Linked DNA regions of Homo sapiens: region 2 is linked to region 1. Evidence: promoter capture Hi-C in human tissues and cell types (Jung and others, 2019). All regions are on one chromosome and are shown on one strand. The core of a region is centred on a gene start or on the middle of the fragment in contact, and the rest is flanking DNA. Distances in the headings are between cores, read along the strand shown.

Region 1 (6,460 bases), core at 3,961-6,460:
AGCATTGCAAAGAGGCACAGGAAAAAATCTTTCACTGCATTGTAATTTATTTCTAAATTTTTATTTATTGTAAAGGCAATTTTAAAATATTGTAACCTTTTGTAAGAAAATAAGAAAAAGTATTCACATCCCCACCATCTTTCTGCCGCATGGTGAAGAAGGAAGGAGCGCTGATCTGCTGTCTGAAGGCCTGAATTCCAGTTCTCTGCCATCTCCTCCCTTGTGGACTAGGAACCAGTCACTTAATCTCCTCATCTACTAGATGGATGATTAGGATCCACCCATTGTGCCTCTCAGTATTTTTGTAAGAATTACATGAGATAAATTCCTTCTGGACAATTTGCAGAGACTTGCCCCATGGAAGAATACAGGTTAACCTCTGAATAGTGTACCTGCTAAATTTTCCTCTACATTCTGAAAAAAGGAAGAAAGGGGACAGGAACCATCATTTAACACTTGCCATGGATCAGTCACAGTACCTTCACCATTTAACCCAACTCATGTAATCCTTGCCTTGTACACTGTGAAGCAGGCCCTATATGTCCCGTTTTACAAATGAGGAAGCTGAAGTTCAGAGAGCTAAAGTATAGCACCTAAAGCAATCCAGTTGGTAAATAACAGACCCAGGATTTGAACGCAGATCTGTCCAACTCCAAAGCCGTGCTGTTTCTTCTGTACAAGGTCAGTGAGAAGAGGACTATTTGGCTCCCTTCCTAGCCCTTCCATTCTGACATCATCTTCACTTCTCAGTAATGGAGACAGACCTCGACCCACCATGGTTAGGCCTAGCTCTAAAGTTGTTTGAAGGATGATACTGCCTTCTGACCTTCAACCTGTCTCTGCTTCCCCGAACTCCAGCCTGCTTTTGTCCACAAAGCCAGGCTGGATGCAGAAAACATTGTCCAGTCTTCCCAAGTCTGATGTGGAATATTGTGTGCTTGAGCAGAGAGCACAGAACAGAGATGAGACTGCTGAAATAGGGGAGGAATGGGAGAGAGGCAAATATACCCTGGTTCAGGATGTTTGAACTGCCAAGCATATTTCTTGGAATAAAAGCAAGAATGGACGCTTTCAAAAAGCACCTAGGCATTGACCTTGAGCTCTGCAACGTCTTCTGCATCTTCTCAGGTAAGGAGGAATCCCTGAAAACTCTGATGATGGCTTGGGACAGCATGATTTGCAGAAGTCACCCAGCTTTGGCTAGATTTGCTATCTTGGTATGGGGGCTGGGGGAGAGAGTGTCATCTGCAGGAAATACTGATAAAGCTGTTCTGGCTGAAACCCCATAGGGAATCCATAGTACAGTTTATTCCAAATAATGATATGAAGTTATACCCTCAAATACAGGACCTCAACTTGATTCTGCAGTAGACTAGGTTCAACTGATGTTTGTTTTTTTGAGTAAATTAACACTTCTGCAGAAGGCGGCTACATGCCTCAGTAAGCAGAGGATGGGGGAGGTGGGGAGAAGAGACCAGGGGCCCTCAGGGTTGGGTCAGAGCCTCCTTAGCTTCTATCCACGTGGCAAAGCTGTAGGTGTGCTTGTGTGTCTATTCCTCTGTGTCTCTCCCTGCACGTCAGACAATCCAGCTACAATCGTCAGACTGCTCCCTTTACATTTCTGCTGGGGACTTGGAGGGAGGAGGGAATGGGGAAAGGGCTCCCTATTTAGAAATTGCATTGAGATGGAAAGACAATATGACACATCGGCTCATGTCAAAGGAGCTCATTCTTCCCGCCTACAGCATTAGCAATTTCCTACCAAGGTTCAATTTTTTTAAAGAAATTATTATTTGGTTTTAATTTATTTTATTTGCAACATAACTCAACAAGACATTGCTGCTCAGAGCAGAGTGGGAGCCTGCCCAAGGGCAGAGACTTAAGTTGGGGGCAGGAGATGAGCACATTGGCTATTTCCGAAGAGAGGAGGGCATAGGAGTGGGAGGCCTCTTGTTTCTGTCTCAAACCTCCTCTCATTCTGCCTCCCATTCCACCCCAGCTCCTCTTCCTGCATCTGAGAAGTCTGGTCTGGAGGTGCCCAGACTCGGGATGCTCCATGCATGGCTGTAGGCGCAATGAGAACGATGGGGGAGGGGGAGCTGAAAGTGAGTTGGCCTCTGTAAAACCACCCTCAGCTTCAGAGCCAGGAAAGGCTGCCTCCCTCCTCCCTTTGCCCCAGCCTCCTCTTTTCTCCCTCATGTAAAATCCTAGAGTGCTGTTGCTGGAAGGAGCCTCAAAGAGCTCCTAATCCAACTTCACATAGGCACACTGAGCCCCAGATAGGGGATGTGACAGCCTCGTGGCTGCTTTGGTGCACCAGCCCTGAATCCCAGCCCTCCCAGGCCCTGTCCAATGTACTTATTTGCCACCACTCCATGCTTAACTGTCTCTGCTCCTGCTTCTCTCCTCCCCACCCCTAAACCCAAACTCAGAATGGGATTTCTCTGAGAGATAGAATTGAAGGGCAACAATTCCACTTCTTTCCACCTCTTTCCCTCTCTGGGTTTGAGTGGGACCCTGGATCCTCCCTCCCAGCTCTTGGTGGGACCCTGGGACTCTGAATTTTATCTCTTCATATGGGAAGAAGCAAAGGTGTGTTTGGGGGTTGGGTTTGCAGGGCAAAGGGGTTTGAGAGACAAAAAAGTTTCCATCATTACATGAAGAATTTTTCTGCTTTGTGGCTGGTTATGTGACCACAGTGGTATCAGCAATTGACCTGGGGGCTGGGGGAGGTAGCGGGCTAAAGAGGACAACTAGGGTGAGGCTTTACCTTAATGTCTCCTTCTGAATGTGTGTTTCTTTACCTGTACATCTGTCTCCCTGTCTGTTTCTCTGTTCTCTATTTCCTATAACTGTCTCTCTGTATCTCTGTCTCATCCTCTGTCTCTCTCATTTGTATCTGTCTCTTGCCTCTATTTCTGTCTCTGTTTCTTTCTCTCTGTCTCTCTCATCTCTGTCTCTCCCACACACGCTAACTCCTACAATCCAACTTCAATAGCTATTGACTGACCCAGGGGCCCTAACCTGTTTCTGCAGCCCTATCAGGGCAGCAGCTCCTTCACACTGCTAGATTGAGAAATGCCAGGTCCGGAGCTGCTGCCGGGGCGCCAGAGACGCTGCAGAAGCGCCTGCCGAGTGTGGAGGCTGAATCCAGGAACAATGAGAAATTATCTGTTAATTCTCGGCTCCTGCCACCTGCTCTGCTCCAAACAAGCTCCTTTGCCTTCAGTTTAGATGCAAATTCCCCCACTCGATGTAAGCAAAATATTGATTTCCCTGCATCACAGGTCTGGGCCCTTGGAATGGTCCTGTGTTTTTTCATTCTCTGCAAAGGCAAAACAAGGTGCTTTGTTCTGTGAATTTCCCCCAGGAACTCGCGAGGGGGAGGGAGAAATAGCAGGGGAGTGACAGAGTTGCCATAAACACGGGCAAAGAGCAGTTCTCCATTTGTATTTTACATAAACACAAACCTGCCACTTGGGAAACTGCTAATAAGCGTTTAGCCAGAGGCTCTTCTGGGTGCTGAGATCTGCATCGGGTGATGGAAAAGAAATTAATGGGGCCTCTAGGCTCCTCAGGTGGGTTTTCAGAAGCACCAGGAAGGCGCATAGGGATGCCAGAGCCCCACTTGTTCTTGGAACAGCAACCAAACACCTCCAGCAGGAAGGCAGCCCGGATTGCACAGTATCGCCTGCGTCGTGTCTGCTTGGTCCCTGCCTGAGTTCCTAGCCTTCTGCTATCACAGGCACAGGGGTCAGGGTGGAAGCTGCGAACCTTCAACAATTGCCTCTCCCTCGTCCCCTAAACTTATGCCCACGCGATGGTAGCACCAACTGGGTCTTCAGCACCGTGGACAGAGCCAGGGGGCGCCTCACGGTGGAAAAGCCGCCTGGCTGGGCCAGGGTCCTCACAGGCCTTGCCTTAGCCCTTGGTGCCCCAGGCACCAGCTGCTAGGGGATCGCAAGTCCAAGGGCCGGTTGGCACAGATGGCGCGCAGTGGAGACCGCCAGGAGCTAAGGCTCCGAATCTCCTCCCTCCGGAACGTGAGTCACTGCCCGAGTCACTTCCAATAAGCGTGTTAATTAAGAGGCAAGACCTTTCTCCCTCGCCAGCCACTCGGGCATACACCAACCCAGCAGCCTCCAGGGGCTGCAGCTAAAGCTTCCTTCCCAGCTCCGGGAGAGCAAATGGACCTGAGTCTGGGGCTTCAGGCGAGCCCCACACAGAAGGGGCCCCACCGCCGACAGGTGTAGATCAAGAGACTCCCGAGATAGGCCCCTGCAGGGCGCTGGTCCCCCGGCCTCCCTGACCATGGCTCACAGACTTCCAGCGCTGAGTGAGGCAGCTCGAAGCCTCTCAGCCGATCTGTTCCTGGGCCTCACTCCACAGTTTCTGAGGGGATCTCTACTTTAAGTCTAGCCTCAATCCTCCCGTTGAGCTTTCTGTCTTTCTTGTTATGCTTAGCAGAAAGATACATGATCTCTGGTGCTGTTTCACCGAAGCAAGGAGGTGGGTCGGCGGAACTGAGCGCCCTGCGCCCTCTTGAAATGACCCCCCATTCCTGTTTGCCAGAAACTTTTCCCTCCCGTTGCCATGGAGAGAGACGGCCGCTGCCTCCCGTCGCCATAGCAACATGCGGGTACCGCGGACCGCAGGATTGCGGAGCTCGGAAAGTCTTGCAGTTCGCATCGCCCGCCTGTCTTGGGGTCTTCTACCTCCGAAGCTGGGACTCGGGGGCCAGTCTAACTGCTCCCGTCAGGAACCTCGGCCAAGGTCCTCCCAGACCCTGCCTGACCGTCGCTCTTTCTGTTACGGGGTTATCTATTTCTCTGTCATTCGTGTGGCATGTGGCAGTTTACCCAGTGTTTTCACAAACACGATCTTTCTATCCCCAGGGAGTCCGTGAAGTACTTAAAATCATTACACCTCCTTTACGGAGAGGAAAATTGAGGCTCAGAGACGCCCAAGGTCACACCAGGCAGTGAATGCGGAGTGGGAACCCGGACTCTTTCCTGGCCTTGCACCCTCCGAGATTCGGGACAGCCCGGCTTCCCGCCTCGAAACCCCCACCCCCCGGACTCAGGCCAGTCCCTGAGTGTAGAGGGGGCGGCCGCGAGGCGCCAGACTCGCCAGCTGCCGCGGGATGCCACGTGAGGGGCGGGGACCCTGCGGGGAAGTGATTAAAAGCAGAGCGGAGCCGCAGGGGGCCGCTGCAGGGAGGGTCTTCTTGGGGCCGTCGTGCCCCGCCCCAGTGCGGCCGGGGCGCGGGTTCGAGCTGCTGCTCGGCAAGCCTGGGTGTCTAGGGCATGAGCGGAGTGTGGGGGGCCGGCGGGCCTCGGTGCCAGGAGGCGCTCGCGGTCCTCGCCTCGCTGTGCCGGGCCCGGCCGCCCCCTCTCGGGCTGGACGTGGAGACTTGTCGGAGCTTCGAGCTGCAGCCCCCAGAGCGGAGTCCCAGCGCGGCAGGCGCAGGTAACGGGAGACCCAGGGCCCCCTCCCTTCCTGGATATCCGTCCTGCGATCTCCCTTCCCCAAAGCCCCGGTCCCAGGAGCCCCAGAACCTAGAGAGAACTCCCCAGCTCGGGATTCTGGATTGGGAGCCAGCCTCGTCCAGCCCTCTGGCCCATCGCTTGCACAGCCAGGAGAGACCCGAAGGGGAGCGGAGGTTGGGGTAGAAGCCCCCGGCCCTCCTGTATTACTACTGCGGAATGCGGGGGACCCCGCAGACAGCCAGGCTCCCAGGACGGGGCACCCTTGGGGCTTCAGTTTCCCTCGCATCTCCAAGCTCGCTCTGCGGGCGATTTGCCAGGAGAGGGGTCCATGGAGAGAGCGGGAGACGAGGGGCGCCCGGCTGAGGAATAGGGCTTGCCTCCTAGCGAGTGTCGAGGTCCCCGGGTCCGTGCGTCGGTCTGTCCGTCCGTTTGTGTGTTCTCGCGGTGAACGCGGGCGGACCCCCAGTCTCTCCGGGAGAAACTTGGGTCTGCGGCTGGCACGAGGTCTTTGTGTCCGGGTGTCTCTCCGGCTGCGAGTGGTTTTCCGCGTCTCCGCTGGGGGGCGGGGGACAGGGGGCGGGGTGGGGGAGGGTATGAGGGTGTTGCGGCGTCCTTCCCCCACCCCCTCTCGCCCCTATAACTCGCTCCCTCCGTCCCTCTCGGACTCGGACTCGGGGCCGGTGCGCGACTGAGCTGGCGCCTCTAGCCGACTTTGCCAAGAGGGCGCCTCCTGCCCGATCCGCGCTGACCCTGCGCGGGACGCAGCCCCAGGCGGCTGCCTAGCCGAGGCGGGAGCCCGAGCTGAGTCGAGCTCGCCGGAGCGGGTGAGTCCCGAGCCCGATCCCCGCCGGGCTGGACCCTGGCGCGCAGCTGCGGCGTCTCCGGGGAGTCGCGGCAGGGGGAATGGCGTGTCGCGCCCTGGCGGCGGGAGCTGCGGGAGGGTCGGCGACGTGGCGGCCGGCCCAGGGTAT
Region 2 (6,052 bases), core at 1,289-3,788, 48 kb before region 1:
CCTTGGCCTCCCAAAGTGCTGGGATTACAGGTGTGAGCCACCGCGCCAGGCCATACCACAATTTCTTATCCACTCATTGATTGAAGGGCGTTTGGGCTGGTTTCATATTTTTGCAATTGCGAATTGTGCTGCTATAAACATGCGTGTGCAAGTATCTTTTTTGTATAATGACTTCTTTTCCACTAGGTAGATACCCAGTAGTGGATGCTGGATGAAATGATAGTTCTACTTTTACTTCTTTAAGGAAACTTCACACTGTTTTCCATAGTTGTACTAGTTGACATTCCCACCAGCAGTGTAATAGTGTTCCCTTTTCACCACATCCCCACCAACATCTATTTTTTTTTATTATGGCCATTCTTGCAGATGTAAGGTGATATCACATTGTGGTTTTGACTTGCATTTCCCTGATCATTAGTGATGATGGGCATTTTTTCATGTTTGTTGGCCATTTGTGTATCTTCTTTTGAGAATTGTCTATTCATGTCCTTAGCCCATTTTTTGAAGGGATTTTTTTTTTCTTGTTAATTTGTTTGAGCCAGCTGATTTTTATATTTTTTGTAGAGATGAAGTTTCATCTGGTTGCCCAGGTGGGCCTCAAACATCTGGGCTCAAGCAATCTGCCTGCCTCTGCCTCCCAAAGTGCTGGGATTATAGATGTGAGCCATTGCACCCGGCCAATTTACTTATTTTGTTTATTGTCTATCCCTCCCTCACCTCATCCCCTCCAGCAGGGATTTTTGACTGGTTTGATCACCACTGTGTTCCCAGTGCCTAGAATCATGCATCACAGAGTAGGTGCTCAAAAACATTTGTTCCCACATCGACTGCTGTGCCTGAGCAGGCAAGGTAGGAACAAAAGGAAAGATAGAGTTGGCTGAAGACTATATTATTCTGTTCGGCAGTTCTCTACTTACACAGAGAACAAAGAGCATCAATCAAAGTGAACCACAGTGTCTGGGAGGCAGCGAGAATTCCAGAACATAGGATATGAGCAGCAAGAAAGAAAGCGCAAGAGATGAGAGAATGAAAGGGAAGCCGGAAGAAGCAGTATCTGAGGGCAGGTGCTGGCACAATGAACAAAGCTGCCCTTTTGATGCATGTTGGGCTAGTGCATTTAGCCCCCTGGCTACCCTCACTGTGGCTGAATGTGATCAGTCCTTGGAGTTACTCCATGGGATAAGTGGTGTGTTTGTGGTATTATGGCAGCTCATGCATCTTTGAACTGGCTCCTGTGTTCTGTGGTATGTGCTGTATCATCTAAGCCCTCTTCCTCCCTATTTCACATGGAAAAATCAGCTCTTTCTCTCTGAGAAATAATGCAGGGGCAGAGAAGAAAAGAAAAGCGAAGCATCTTCCAATGGAGCTAGAGAGTAAAGCTTTAGATTCTTAATCTTTGGTCTTTGGGGTTTGTTGTTGTTGTTGTTTGAGACAGTTTCACTCTGTTGCCCAGGCTGGAGTGCAGTGGCATGATCTCAACTCACTGCAACCTCTGCCTCCTGGGTTCAAGTGATCCTCACACCTTAGCTTCCCAAGTAGCTGGGACCACAGGCACTCAGCACCACACCTGGCTAGTTTTTTTTTTTAATTTTTTGTAGAGATAGGGTCTCACCATGTCGCCCAGGCTGGTCTTGAATTCCTGGACTCAAGCAATCCTTCTGCCTCAGCCTCCCAAAGTGCTGGGATTACAGGTGTGAGCCACCGTGCCTAGCCTCTCTTTGGTCTTTTTTTTTTAGAGGGAGTCTCGCTCTGTCACCCATGCTGGAGTGTTGTGGTACGATCTCGGCTCACTGCAACCTCCACCTCCTGGGTTCAAGCGATTCTCCTGCCTCAGCTTCCCAATGAGTTGGGATTACAGGTGCCCATCACCACGCCTGGCAAATTTTTGTATTTTAGGGGAGACAGGGTTTCACCATGTTGGTCAGTCTGGTCTTGAACTCCTGACCTCAAATGATCCATCTGCCTCCGTCTCCCAAAGTGCTGGGATTACAGGCGTGAACCATCACGCCTGGCCCTCTTTGGTCTTTTGATTGATCACTGTTGGCTTCCACTTTGGGGATGATCATGCTGACTTTTCCTCCATGAATGATCCTGGTAAACTTTTCTTTGAGCTCTTTAAAAACCAATTTCCCCATCCCACAGCATCTGTTTCAGGGAAGGCTGCTGCCAGCCTATGGAGTGTGTAAATTCAAAAAGGATACTCCTTGTGTGGACACAGCTTCACCAGCACATGGGTTGGTGGGAGCTGTTGCCTTTGTGCAAAGAAAAGGCATTCCTTCCTGCAGGACTGGAATTCAGCCCCACTTGCCTCCTTGGCTGGGCACCTTTGCACAGTGTATAAACTCGTGTCCTTACATAGTGGTCTTCTAGTCAAATTCTTTCTAGTCATCATCTGTAAACATAAAATACCTATAGAGTAAAGCTCTAAAACCTGCCAGGGCCAAAGGTGTATGTTGAATGGGGTTGTGCCAGAAGTTCTAGGATGTATTTCTAGATTTCCAAAGCGAGAAGATGAGATTCACTCCTGAAGTAATTCTTGCTACCAAAAGGAGCCAGTTTCCAGCCCAGCCCACCAGCAGAGGCAATTGAGCAGAGGCAAGCAGATGCTGATGATGGAGGAGATCAGCACATTCCAAGTAGAGAAAGGAGCCATTTTTGGGTTATAAGTAACTGACAGCAGGCATTTTGCAGAGCACTTTGGACGAGGCAACCTCCCTAGACAGCAATTGATGTGGCCTTTGTTATTTAAAAATCTGAACTTTGATAAATTACAGTTGTAGAGATTGAGAATTCTCTGCAATTAGTAACAAGATCCTTGATACAAAAAAAATCCATATGAACCCAGACCAATATGAGCCAAGAATTAGAAAGAATGGAAGATACAGGTCAGCTAGACTTGGGTAACATAAAATCAACACACCCATCAATTCTTTAGTTAGGAAGGCGTGGAGGTCAATATCAGAATTCAGCAGCAATTTTCCAAGTTAACAGTACAGTAGATTTTAGGCAGTCTTCATTACGTAATGTGAGACTCAGCCATTCTCAATTAACCTTTGTCTTATCTTTATTAAAGTCTAAATTAAAGAACAATTCTCAGTATTTTCATAAATGGAATCTGACTGGGAAAAGAGTCCCACCTAACTACTGCTGACAGGAACCCGGTGTCCAGAGTGGGCAGGGCAAATCTCACAGCCTCCCTTAGGGAATGCCGCCTCTGGCAGCCTTCTCCCAGGTCAGAAGGGCTGCACATTAAAGTGACACTATGCATGGCTGCTAGCCAGGCTAGCTTTCTTGTAGCAATCTGTGTGACAGAGTTTCCACCAAGTTGTCTTTTTGTGTACCTCATGGCATCAATAATCCAGCACATTCCTCCTTGTATCTTGCAGCTTGCCTTGGACAATCCCTGGGAGCCCCATTGCTGCTACTGAACCAGCTCCCCATGCAGGTTCATTTTTGCTTTGTCTCACCCCTCTAGTGCCCATGGCAGTTGGGGTGGGAGGAAGGCAAGGACTAATAACATTTAAGTAAAAGCTATTTTGATTCTAAGAAGGGAGAAGGCAGAACGAAATTGCAGCATTTTTTTTTTCTAGTGGTAAAATTTGTCTTCACTGCCTTGCCCATACTTCCTCTAGTCTGCCAGTAACAATCTCTTTTACTCTCATCTCCATGAACTTCCCTTTGACTACCCAAGACCCCTGGCTTTAGCCTGTTTATCTTCATAAGATTCCATGCCTCCAAATTATATCTCATCTTCCTTCCATTTTCTTATGGTAGGTGTGGGGAAAGCAATCTGATTAAACCCAAAACCCTCACCATTGAGATTGGTGAGATTTTGTTTGAATAAGCCATAAGCTCTCTGTCTCTGCCAGCAACATGAAGAGCTTTTGTGACTACTGTGGCACAATTTTTATACGCAGTACAATGTTGGCTATGAAATCTTTGCATTATTTTCTTTTTTGTGTATAATTGAAAATAAGCATTTTTTAAGACTGTAATTTCAGCTGCTGCTCACTCCCTCTTCTCTTCCTCTCCCCTCTTCCTACTTCTGCTGTTCCTTTTTTGAAAGAAATTACTCCATGTAGACTTTTCTTTTGCCATTTATTCTATGTGAGAGGGGTTTTGAGTGGGGCAGAGAGACAGGTGAAGTTTAAGAGAGCAGGCATTTGTCATTACACTGGGTATAGCCATGGGAGATTTTTTTTCTGGTGTGTCCAACCTGGAAAAAGGCTTGAGCATTATTGATTTAAGGGAGGGTTTCTGCCCACAAATACCTCCTCAGTACCACTTTAAATTCCACCAAGTAACTTTTGACTTCCGGACATTCCTAGAATTAGGTTCTGGGACTAATTACTGCCTCTGTGTTCCCTCCCTTTTTTTTCTTTCATCTTAAATGACAATAACTCAGCTCAAGTTTTCTGGTCCTTTCTTTTTTTTTTTCTTTCCTTTCTGTTTTTTTTCCATTTTTGAAATTTGTGGGAAAAAATGCATAACATAAAATTTCCAATCTTAACAATTTTCTGTTGTGCAGTGAATCTGTAGAGATTTTTCATCTTGCAAAACTGAAACTCTACAATCATGGAATGATGCTAATAATTCCTCTTTCCTCACCACCCTCGGTCCCACCCTCTAGCAACCACCATTCTACTTTCTGTTCCTAAGAGTTTGACTACTTGAAATACCTCATATAAGTTGAATCATATAGTATTTTTCTTTCTATAGCTGGATTATTTCACTTGGTATAATGTCCTCAAGGTTCATTCACACTGGAGCGTGTGTCAGAATTTCCTTCCTTTTCAAGGTTGAGTAGTATTTCCTTGTATACACATACCACATTTCTTTATTCTCCCATCGATGACATTTGGGTTGCTTCTACCTCTTGGCTATTGTAACTATGCTGCAGTGAATTTTGGTGTGCAATTAAAATATCCAGAAGGTAAAAAGAACTGAGGATAAAGCTCCACTTTGCCACAATGGAAAAAAAAAATCAGCTGCCTACTCTGTCACTCACTTAGGAATCTACTTGCTAGTATGAAAGTTATTTTGCATAAAATTATCTATTAACTCAAAAAGCTTTCAGCTCTATTTAAAGCTTCACTTTAAAGTTTGACTGTGTTTTTAGTCCTTCAGAAGCTTTTATTATCTGAAAGTATTCAGAAATGTCTCCATTCATTTGAGGTTTCTAGAATATCTTATTCTTGAACAAGGGTATCCTATAATTCACAACAATATGTGAGTGACTGTTGAACACGCTGCCTACCCAGCATTAGCTTTTAAAACCAGTGTATTTTTTACTTGGTGGAATTGGAAGTAGGTATTGAGGAGGTATTTGTGAACAGAAGTCTTCCCTTAAATCAATAATACTCAGCCCTTTTTCCATGTGGGAACACAAGAAAGAAAATCTTCCATGGCTATGCCCAGGGTAATGACAAATGCCTGCTTGCTTTAACTTTACCTCTCTCTCCCACTCAAAAAAGTATAAAAAAGAATACAAGTGAACACAGTGTGTGTTGTTATAGGGATAGCCTTGAATTTTCTCTTGCTTATTTTTATAAAAAGATAAATCATTTGCAAACTCCAGTATTTTAACTATTAACAAAACAAGTTACTTGCAACACACCTCACAAATTATTCACCATGCCATTGTGAGCACACTGTGGTTGAGAACATTTGTCTTAAATGGTGGCATTCAGCCTATTCCACATACCTGTGTATCTAGCCTTGGAAGAGGCAATGAGAGGCGTGATTATGGTTCCCTAGCTCCTTCCTTCCAACTAGGGAGAGGCAGAAGAAGAGAAACAGAGCAGATCGGCAAGCTCCTTTGAGGAGCCAGGGGTCTCGAATGCATTGTTAGGCTGCCTGCAACTTCAGTTATTTTGAGAACCGTAAATGACAAGCCCAAGTATTCAAAGTTGGAGTCATGGGGCTCTTGAGGATGCTGAGACAGTTGAGCTAGCAGAGTGCTGTGGTTAAAACACGCACTTTTGTGTTGGACAAATGTGGCTTCAAGTCCAAGCTCTGTGATTTCCTAGTTTTGTAAACCTTGGTGAGTTAT

What was found. The method cuts DNA at HindIII sites, captures the fragments that hold promoters and counts their contacts. A contact is called where the count stands out against the background at its distance.
Region 2: a contact is called between a fragment that was not itself captured here and the fragment with the promoter of SYT6 in region 1, in 1 of the 25 tissues and cell types used here (psoas muscle).

The regions. Positions count from the first base shown.
Region 1 is chr1:114,152,619-114,159,078 of GRCh38, reverse strand. SYT6 (synaptotagmin 6) reads left to right here and starts at 5,210. Exons shown (of 8, transcript NM_001253772.2): 1 at 5,210-5,469. The coding sequence starts at 5,307. RefSeq lists a silencer at 2,198-2,492 and an enhancer at 3,422-4,035. The HindIII fragment of the contact is 10,069 bases long and covers 1-6,460 here.
Region 2 is chr1:114,198,837-114,204,888 of GRCh38, reverse strand. No RefSeq gene overlaps it. Among named protein-coding and RNA genes, the nearest start is that of SYT6, 48 kb to the right of the region's middle. The HindIII fragment of the contact is 5,144 bases long and covers 1-5,110 here.